Linked DNA regions of Homo sapiens: all the other regions are linked to region 3. Evidence: promoter capture Hi-C in 16 types of primary human blood cells and fetal thymus (Javierre and others, 2016). All regions are on one chromosome and are shown on one strand. The core of a region is centred on a gene start or on the middle of the fragment in contact, and the rest is flanking DNA. Distances in the headings are between cores, read along the strand shown.

Region 1 (3,596 bases), core at 268-2,767, 230 kb before region 3:
AGCTGTTTCCAAATGGGCACACAGTGCTTTGTTTTTGATTCTCTCTGCCTTCCTCTGCACAGACACTGATACCACTCTGGTCTTGCAGCTGTTGGTGGTTTGTCCTCACTGGCTGATATTTGAGGTTTGTAAAGAAATGTAGTCCTCTAATTTCATTGTAAATGTTAGCCATGGAGTTTTGGTTTGCTATCTGATTACTTTGTCTGCTTTAATGCAGGGATTCAGAGAGATAAAATATGTATGTATATCATGTCCACTGCCACCATCTTCTTTTGAACACTAAGTATTTGCCAAGATTCTCTTATATATTGTCTCATTCAATTTTTACAACATCCAGGTGGGGTAGGAATAATTATCATTCTCATTTCACATAGAAGGAAACCCTGGCTCAGGAGGTCAAATAGCTTTTGAAGTGCTAGAGCTGGGATTTGAACCAATGTCTGTGTGACTACTAAGTCTGCTAATCTTTATGTCAAAAATATTTTAAAATCAGTTCTTTAAAATTTAAAATATATATTCCCATAGAATGTTTTCTAACCAAAATATTATAATCTATGGTTAAGAAAATACTAGTTTTTGAGCATGAGAATTTGGATGATTTTTTTCTTTTGTTCACATCCTCAAATTTCTCTAATGAGTCTATATTAACTTAAAATGAAACATCCAATACACCTTATTTTAAAAATTAAAACAAGCAGGTTTGCAAAGTTCCTTGGTGGGTCTTCAAAAGTTTATTTAATTCAAGATGTACTTGGAATACAGTATGTATACATGTGTGGATACTTATGCATACACAGACATTTGATTAAAGCAGCAAATCAAATCATACATCTATAAAAGTAATAGTAATAGCATAATTGTTAAGGTGCTTAATGATTAAAGATGTCAGTTCTGTGTTTAGACAGACTGGAGTTTGAACACTGGGTCTTTGTCTTATTTGGTTACCTTGGATGAATTATTCAGCTCATTCAAGCTTCAGTTTCCTTATCTGTACAGTGGAATGACTTCATAGGATTGTCCTGGTCATAAAACGACATAATACATGTGGAACAAAGCACTTAAGGCAGTACTCAGCAATAATAAGCACTCACCAAATATGAATGGTTGTGAAACAAACAAACAAAAAAATTAGGCGTAGTGGAAATAAAGGGAGGATTGTAGCCATTCTGAAAAAAATTCTGTGTAATGTCAAGCCTGAAGAAATAGATGGCTTTTTTGTTTGTATGCTTTGCAGAGGGGTGCGGGGATTTTTTTAACCAATTTATCAGAGATCAATAAGTGCCTTTAAAAAAATTTCACAACTGGGGGAAACGAGAGTTACAGTAAGTAGCCTTAGAGTAGGTGGAGTAGGTGTTGCAGTGTGGAAGTGACAGCTCACACATCACATGACAGGCATGTATAGGTCAGATACTTGTTGCAACTTGGAAATTGACTTCCTGTAGAGTTCTAGGGACAGATTGGAAATTGCCCTGCTGAGCCAGTATATACTTGACAGAAAACTTTGTCAGGTCTCCCCAGGAGCTGATTTGGAAGGCCATTTGTAACCCTGATAATTGTAAACAAATTGTTCTGAAGTGGTAACTTGAAATATGTGTTGGTGCGAATTGTTAGACTATTCAACTGCAATGAGTTTAATTGGTTATAAGAATGTGTTTCTTCTTGGAAAGTGTAATACACACCTCTCCTCCCCCACGGAATTTGCTATTTTGTGATCATTGCTGTTGGGATAATAGAAGCATTTAATTTTATTGAGTGCAAATATGTGATTTGAAATGGATAAACAGGATTTCTCCCTTTCTAATTTTGGGCTATAATATCATTTGTTCAGTGATAAGATGCCTGTTAGCATCCAGAAGTGATATAGAGACCATTTTCTGTGTCCACAATGTGGGGAAGATAGAGAGGGTTAGGTATGGTGCATGTATTGCAAGAGGAATTCCCCGGTGCTGCAGGCAGTGTTGGCAGTTGAGATGTATTTCTGCTAGTTAGTGATTGCATTCGTGCACCTGCCTTCCCGGGCCTGGCTCCCCACCTGGGAAGTCTGGTGAGGCTGACAGACAATAAGCTTGGGTGACAACAACTGTACCATTGGCTCCAGTACATTGCTATGAAGGGAAATCCTAAGGTGAAAAGAATCTGTTAGCTAACATGGGGACTAGAAAACCTCCTGCTAAAATGTGAGCTGTGGTTTCCACTACACAGATGGTTTTCAGCTCCAAGAATCTAGAATGGATTCTCCTCAGGTTTCCAGTTTCTAGAGAAGGTAGATTTTTTTTTTTTTTTTCTGAACAACTAGATGTGTTTATTTTCTGATAGGTATTTTGTGACTCTTGAAACTAATAATGATTATCTCTTTGATTTGATCACTAGGGAGTCACATTTGTGGCTTATGTCAACAAATCTTATAGTATCCCTAAAGACATGAGCTTTTATATAGTTATTTATCTGGAGAACAGAGATGCATCTCTCTCTATCTCTTCATTTTCCCTTCATTGTGATTTCCTCATCTATCATTTATTCCCTAGTATATATACTTTTCTGTGAGGCATTTCAAGGCCTTTTTAAATCAAGTTAAATCAGTTCCACACCTAATAGTTTCCAAATCAGGTCAAGAAGAGGTACAGGGGGAGCCTAACTTTCCCTTTCATTGTTTTGGTCGGTAATTAATTAAATCTTCGCTAAGTAGAGAGGATGAAGTTGCTGGGAGTGTACATGGTCTGCTCCACTTATTGTCTTTTGAGAAAAACTTTCTTGGCCACTTAATTGTTATAATCAGTAATTACAACTTTATTAAATAATTTGTAAAATCCTATTCCTGAGTTATACATGTGCATGTGAAACAGTTTTTTAAAATGCTTTCTTGATCTAGTTTTGAGTCACTGACGAGAGGCTGGTCAGTTCCCCTTCTTGAGCATTCCATTAAGTCTGCACCCCAAGCATCTGCTTGATTGGGCTCTCACACTGTGGGCCACTATACCTGCTCTAATTGTCCCAGGGTCAGGATATTAGGCAACCAGAGTTTACCCCTATTTCCCAGCCTGCTGAATTTTTTCAAAGTAGCTAGTCCTTAGCCTGCTTGCTGGCCTTGTCCTTTCCTTCTCACAGAAACCACAATGAAGGCGTTTGCCTACAGTCTCCTTCCTCTGACACACACCAGTGCTTCCCCAGCACGGTTGTCTTAGTCCATTTAGGCTGTTATAACAAAATGCCTGGTACCGGGTAATTTACAAAGAACAGAAATGTATTTCTGGCAGCTCTAGAGGCTGGGAAGTCTAGGATCAAGGCACTGTCTGGTGAGGGCTGGCTTTCTCAACTTCCAAGATGGTGCCTTGTTGCTGCGCCCTCACATGGTGGAAGGAGGAAGGCGAAAGGGCACAAGGGGCTTAAGCTGCATCCCTCCAGCCTTTTCACAAGGCACTTACCCATTCATGAAGGCAGCATCCTCATGACTTAATCACTCCGGAGAGGCCCCACCTCTTAATACCACCACAATAGGGAATGAGTGTCAGCATGAATTTTGTGAGGGACACATTAAAATCATAGCAAGTGGCTATGATTTTTTGATTCCCCAGGGAATAGTGCAGATAGCAAAACTA
Region 2 (3,446 bases), core at 171-2,670, 200 kb before region 3:
ATATTCCTGTGTTGCACCAGACTGATGAGAAGAAGAAAATGCATATAAAGGAGCAATCCCAGTCTCTTAAAAGGTCTGCCTCAGTAGTGTTTCGTACTCCATTGTCATGAACCTTGTCACATGAGTGGGGCAGGGACACAGGGAAATGCAGTAAAGATGGCTAGTCATGTATCAGGCTCCAATTGTATTACTATGGGAGAAGGGGAGAACAGATTATATTGGACAACTAATTACTTTTACTTCAGCCTGATCCTTTGGCCATCAAATATCTGTGGACCTTTCTTTTCATGTAAAAATACATATAATCCCTCTTCAAAAAAGAAAACCCTAAGTCCCACCAATTTTTGAATTTAGATCACAGCCCAGAGTCTCTGGGTGATGAACAATTTTCTCCACCAAATCTGGATGTACTCCTAGGATACAAAAACTAAAAGACAAGGTGTTTGCAAACTCACAATGCAACAAACAAACCCTATATACAATCATGGACTAGAGACAGGATAACCATATTAAAAACTCTCAACTGGAAACAAACAAATGAACAAACAACAGTCAATGGTTTATGTAGTGATGGGTCCTGCTGTGTAGGAATTGCTTAAATGCCCTAATCTGGCAGTTGAATTTACTTGATTTAACCCTGGTTCTGCTTTCTCAAAGGAATTTCCTCTCTATTATCTTCCTGGAAAATATCCAAAGTGTCCCTCTTTAGGGACTGTGTCACTTTTGCAGCCTGCTTCTTGCTTGTGCAAATTTGGTGATACCATGTTTGTTTTAAACCTCAGTCACAGGTGTTTTGCAGACCAGGCTTTGGTTCCTTTGGAAATACATTTCTTAGTACTCTCAAAAACATAATACGTTTCTGCTGTATTCATTCTCAGTCATATTTGGCTGTAGCCAAATCCAAGGTTGTTTTCCTTTAGCCATAGTGTTTTCATTTGTTTTATGTAATTCTGCCTTGCTACCCATCACTGCCCCTGCTGCCAACCCATATGCTACCTTAGCAGCTCTCTGAAACAATAGACTTGGATAAGAAGTCAAGATAAGAACCTTAAAGTTTGGGTTCTGTGATCAGAAAGCTTTTTCAGCCTTCAGACCCTGATCCTTTCTATTCTTTTCCATTTCTGCCTGCTAACAGGCTAATTCTCAACTGAGCTCATCACTTCTTTGTTATAACTTGCAAGCAATAAGGATCTGTTCTTTCTAGACATTTCATAGACCTGCTACTTCAGGAGGCATGTGATCTCCCTTCCCAATTGTTTGATGCGATAGTTTACAAAACGTTTTGCCAGGATATACCAAGCATTTGTGGTTTTCTCATCTCCAATTGCCTTTCTGATAAACCAATGCCACATTTTAGGTGTTATAATGGTAGCGCTCCATATATGGTAGTTCTTTCTGTACTAGGTTAAAGATAGCGCTAAATAAAGAGACTATAAAATACAATGCTTAAAACAAGATGGAAGATTTTTCCTAGCTTACATAATCATCTGAATTTCAGGTTGATAGGTAGCTCTCTTCCATATAAATAAATCAGGGACTCAGATTCTTTCTGTGTTATTTTCTTATTACCTCATGGGGTATTGTCTTCATTTGCAAGATTAAAACTATATCTCAGGTATGTCCATTTTGTAAAGAGGAGATTATGAAGGAGGTAGGTCTAGAAGTAGGCACATTTATGTTATGCTCATATTTAATGGTGAAAACAAAGCCACATCTAACTGAAAGGGAATCTGGGAGCTCTAGGGTAGGTAAGCAGCCTTGTACAAAGCTTCAGTTGTATTATTATGAAAAAAGTGAGAGTGTTAGTCAACAGCCTGTGTTATGGGAGACAGTCTAAAAGTAGGGACCCTAGTTAGGAGGCTGCTTCAATCATCAAGGTATGCAATGATCATGTCTTTGTAGAGTAGTAGTAGTAAATGTGTTGAGAAGGAGTTGGATTTCAGATATATTTTGAAAGCTAGTAGAATTTAGTAATTGATTGGAGGGTATGAGAGAAGGTGACTCTAAGATTTTTGGCTTGTGTACCTGAGTAGGGACATGTACTGAGAGGGAAAATTAGAGGAAGGGCAGGATTGAGATGGGGAAAATAAAGAGTTAGATTTTGAACTGATTAGACATCTAAGTAAGCAGGTCATGTGGGGATATTTAAGTTTGGAGTTCAAGAATATTATTGAAGATATACATTTCTGGGGCCATCAGTGTGTCGATGGTATTTAAAGCCATGCATCTGTAATACCACCTAGAGAGTGAGTGAAGCTGAAAAAAGCAAAGAGCTCTAAGAACTGAGCTTTAGTGCACTCCAGTGTTTAGAAGCCAAGGAGATTGGGAGAAACCAATACAGACTATTGACAGGGCAGCCAGGGAGGTAGGGGGAGAATTAAGAGATAAAGTTTCCCTAAATACAAGAGAAGAAGGTATTTCAGGAAGGCGAAAGTGGCAGACTAGGTCAAATATTGGTATTTCGATGAAGTTGAAACTGACAATCAACCAGCAATGTGGAGCCTAACTGGTGACCTTGACCGAGTTGTTACATTGGATGGAGTGAGTTGAAGAGAGAATGGGACTGGACAAAGTAAAGACCAAACATGACCAAATTTTGGAGAAGTTTAAAGATAAAGGGAAGTAGTGAAGTGGAGTAGTAACTTGAAGGAAACTATGGGAACATGAAAGATTCTTTTAATATGAGAGATATTAAAACAGGTTACATATTCATAGGGATAATCCAGTACAGAAAGAATGTGTAAGAGGGAGTGATAATCACTGGAATGACCCTAAGCAATGGAATCTAGTATTCGAGCATTGATCTTGATCTTAAATAGGAACACGCTTCATCCATTGCCATGAAGGAAGGTAGGGAAAATGAGTATAGATGCAAGTAAGTTGATAGACACAGCAGTGGAAATGTGTGGACATTCTTTTCTGATGGCTTCTACTTTATCAACCACATAGGAAGCAGGGTCCTCAGCTAAGAGAGGGTCAGGAAAGAGGAACTGGAGGTTTGAGAAGAGATGAGAAGTTGTGAAATTGTGGTCTAGAACAAGAGGAGTGAATGAATTCAGCATATGTAGAAGAGCTGCTTGATATTCCTGATTATGGATTTAAAGTGAGACACTCAGAAGAAGTGAATATTTTTTTCCAACCTTGTTTAGCTTTGTGATTATAGGTGCAGAATAGACAAGAGTTGGTTTAACCAGCCCACGGATTTATCCGGGTGTATCTGTCAAGATCCAGTCAGAAAACAGAAACCATACCACCAACTAGAATAGAGGAAATCTAATATAAACAACAATACCTAGGTGAAAGTGGTTAACTACTAAACAGGGGTGAAAGAAAACTCTAAGGTGCACAGAGGCAGTGCCTGCAAAGGGTGACTAGATGCCTACATGCCAATCACAGCACCAGAAATGTCTCTTCTTTCACTTGTAGCCTTGCAGTTTCCCTCTAGC
Region 3 (3,428 bases), core at 808-3,307:
TATTTCTAAATGGAAACTTTCCTTCCACAAGCTTAATGGCAACTTTTTACCTTTTTGGCCTTTGTGTTTACTAGATTGTAAAATCCTGGAGGACAGCTCTTTGACGTTATTTATCTTAGTTTTAGATTTTAGCATCAAACCAAGTACATTGCATTCATTTAATAAATGTTTATTCAATTAAACCAACTGCTAATATTCTACCCAATACAGTGTCATATATATATCCGTATGTATATATATAATATTGCCTGATACACACAAACACACACACACATATATATATGTATGTAACAGGCAATAATTGTTCGTGATTTAGTGATAGTAGGAACTCAGTATTTATTCATTGATCAATTAATAGTTTGAACACATTCTATATTTAGAGCATTAGATGAGTCAAGTGCTACTTTCTTTTTTAAAAAAATGTTAGAACCAGCTGGACGCAGTGGCTCACGCCTGTAATCCCAACACTTTGGGAGGCTGAGGCAGGTGGATCACGAGGTCAGGAGATCAAGACCATCCTGGCTAACACAGAGAAACCCCGTCTCTACTAAAAATACAAAAAATTAGCCAGGCGTGATGGCAGGTGCCTGTGATCCCAGCTACTTGGGATGCTGAGGCAGGATAACGGTGTGAACTCGGGAGGCGGAGCTTGCAGTGAGCTGAGATCGCGCCACTGCACTCCAGCCTGGGCTACACAGGCAGACTCCGTCTCAAAAAAAAAAAAAAAAAAATGTTAGAACCATTCAACTAGCATTCTGTAGACCAAATTATCTAAACAGTAGCTCTCCTCTTCCTTTTTCTGCCATGTTATCCATAAGATTTGGCCTGTATCACCTTATAATAAATGAAGAGAGTCTTAAATTCTTATAATACCAAACTCCTTTGGAGAGAATTCAGAATAGATTTATGTCATCTCAAATTCTATCCTATTCCAGTTAATGTTACAGACAGATTCTAGTATACTTTACAAAGATAGGTGAATAAGTAGAGTTTTGAAAAGATACAGACATAAAAGTGAAGAACAGATGCCTTCTGATGCTAGATTTTCCAAAACTCCTACTGTTATGCTTATATAGAAATCATTCTCAGACCTTCCTTGGATTAATTTCTGTTCCTAGAGCAAACTGGTAGTTATTTCTTTCTTTAATAGAACATGAACTTGTCCATCACATCCTAGAAAGTTAGTCCTAGGGATATCCTTTAAAGCCTAAAGGAGTAAATTAAGAGCAAAAAAAGGAAGTAGACCTTGCAACAGGTGGTGAGTGTCTGAGATATAGCACTAGGAGAGAAATAATATAGATTGAAAACAGAAATCCTTAAACATTTCTCATATAAACCCATGAAAGATAGATCCATAAATATTGTGGGGACTATGGGGACTAGGAAGCTTGGAAGTATCCCTAATCTAGATAGTGATGGTAGGCTAAATATCTACGGCTTCCGTAAACGTTCCTCTAAACCTCCCTGTAAAAAACACACTAAGCTGATTGTGTAATGAGCTGATCCAGTACAATTGCCTCCAATTTCATTCTGGACCCTGAACAGGAGGGGACATCGTGACAAAGCAAATTGTCTGGTATCATGAATTTGGAACACCGTAAGTGATCTTTACTGAGGGTTACATTCTGTCATTGTCAGCCTTTTAAGGAGGCCTTGCCACCAGCGCAGGGGAGGTGAAGTCTAAGGGAAGGTAATATTGTCAATGCCTGCTAATTAGTTCTACCCTGGAGATTTTAACTTTCTGCGAAGTTTTTAAAAACAACTTCCAAAACTCTGCTGATCCTGAAATGTTCGAGAATTCAGAGTTCCTAGACAATGGCTACTGTCCCCCTTCCCACTGATTAGGGGAGTTGGCATTTCAGGAACCAGAGTTTCTAAGGGCGCCAAATAGAAGGGCTCAAAGGGAATCAGCAGGCGATGGTTACTGTGGGCGGGTAAATCAGGTGATTTAGAGGAGGGGTTTGGCGAGGTTGGGGTCGGGCTTTAAACGTGGGAGGGCTAATTAACAGGAGATTAACTGGAGAGGGGCGGTGCCTGCGTCCGGCCCGCGCGGCCACAGTCCCTGCATTGCGCGCGACCCGGCGGCGGGACAGGCTTGCTGCTTCCTCCTCCTCGGCCTCACCGTGCGTACTGGGAGGGGAGAAGGGGACCGCATGCAAAGGGTGGCAGGCAGGGAGGGCCAGGGTGGGTGGCAGATGGAAGACTTGGGGGGGTCTCTGCCAGCTGGAAGTGCTTGGCTCCACTTAGCAGCTAAACTTAGCTTTTCAATCGATCGCTTTTGAAAGGGAATTGTATTTCTGTCCCCGTGCGGGTAAGTTTTCCCATTTCTCAAACTCCAGGAATGAAACGAGAGAGTCTTTTCATGCTTGAGTGATGATTTCCAAACTTAGCCTTTTCAAGTCAAAGTAACCTCCTGTTTGAAAGGGTCCCTTGAACTCTGGGGAAGGAGGAAAAGGCACGTGTAGTAATGGAGGAAATGCCTGTAGTTTGAACGACTGCTGTTCTCCCCAAGAGTGCAAAAGCCTGCGATGTCTCAGGTTTCATGGGCATAGTGGCCTTTATGCCTATTGTAAGGCAGGATTTGCTCTTCTGAGTTCACTTTGATAGGAGAAACATCAGCAAGTTTTAAAATAATACTAAATAATACTACTGCTAATAATGCTAGCTATCGAAACAAGAGGATGTGGGTTAGATGATAATATTTTTGTGTGATATTATAGCCAGTGACAAGAGAGCTAAGGGTGAGCCCCTTGGGACGGTTCTCACCTGTGCCCCACTTCCCCAGTCTGGAGGAGGAAGCCATGTGGAAGGAGAAAAGGAGAAGGGAACTCTCTTTTTCGGGAATTAAGGTGTCATATATTGCTCTAGCTGGCTTGGGACAGAGGAGAGAGGAGTGCATGTAAATCTTCTAGTCTCTCTGCTTCTCTTGAAATGTGGCAGTCTGAGCTCCACGTTTATATTCCCCTATTTCTTCTCCCTAATTTCTTACCCAGTGAGTGCTGAGTGGGTGCCCGCAAGCATTGCTGTATAGCACCCAGGCCTCCAGTGAGCAATCCTTAAAGCCCAGTTTTCCTGGGGTCCCAGCCTGCTGTGAGTCCCAGCCTACACCTACCTTTTGCATATGCTTTTCTTGGCCTTAGGATAGTACTGGACTTTGTTGTCCTCTGCTGTTTCCAAAATAAGAGGGCTATGTGTGCGATTATCTTTGGTAATTAAAAAAAAAAAAAAAAAAAAGGCAAATCAGTCCAAATTTGGATATTACCCTCTCTGGCAGACGAGTAAAATTTTTCTACCGCTTTGTTTTAGAGTGGTGTCTATGAATCCCTGAGATTGGAAAAGGAGGTCAGGTCAGCACAGAGAAAGGCCTTACCCCACCACTCTCCCGAGAGGCACCAGCATTTCACCTGCAGCCTCTGGGCTCTGAACCC

What was found. Contacts are between HindIII fragments. The CHiCAGO score rates a contact against its expected background, and 5 or more counts as called.
Region 1: a fragment that was not itself captured here is called in contact with the fragment with the promoter of MGST1 in region 3 in 2 of 17 cell types (M1 macrophages and M2 macrophages); the score reaches 5.8 in M1 macrophages.
Region 2: a contact is called between a fragment that was not itself captured here and the fragment with the promoter of MGST1 in region 3, in 1 of 17 cell types (monocytes). The highest score is 5.0, in monocytes.

Annotation. Positions count from the first base shown.
Region 1 is chr12:16,118,806-16,122,401 of GRCh38, forward strand. All of the region lies in intron 1 of LOC101928362 (a long non-coding RNA gene), which reads left to right. Among named protein-coding and RNA genes, the nearest start is that of SLC15A5, 160 kb to the right of the region's middle. The HindIII fragment of the contact is 1,092 bases long and covers 972-2,063 here.
Region 2 is chr12:16,146,118-16,149,563 of GRCh38, forward strand. All of the region lies in intron 1 of LOC101928362 (a long non-coding RNA gene), which reads left to right. Among named protein-coding and RNA genes, the nearest start is that of SLC15A5, 130 kb to the right of the region's middle. The HindIII fragment of the contact is 692 bases long and covers 1,075-1,766 here.
Region 3 is chr12:16,345,588-16,349,015 of GRCh38, forward strand. MGST1 (microsomal glutathione S-transferase 1) reads left to right here and starts at 2,058. Exons shown (of 4, transcript NM_020300.5): 1 at 2,058-2,123. RefSeq lists enhancers at 1,148-2,077, 3,008-3,428. The HindIII fragment of the contact is 2,670 bases long and covers 1,386-3,428 here.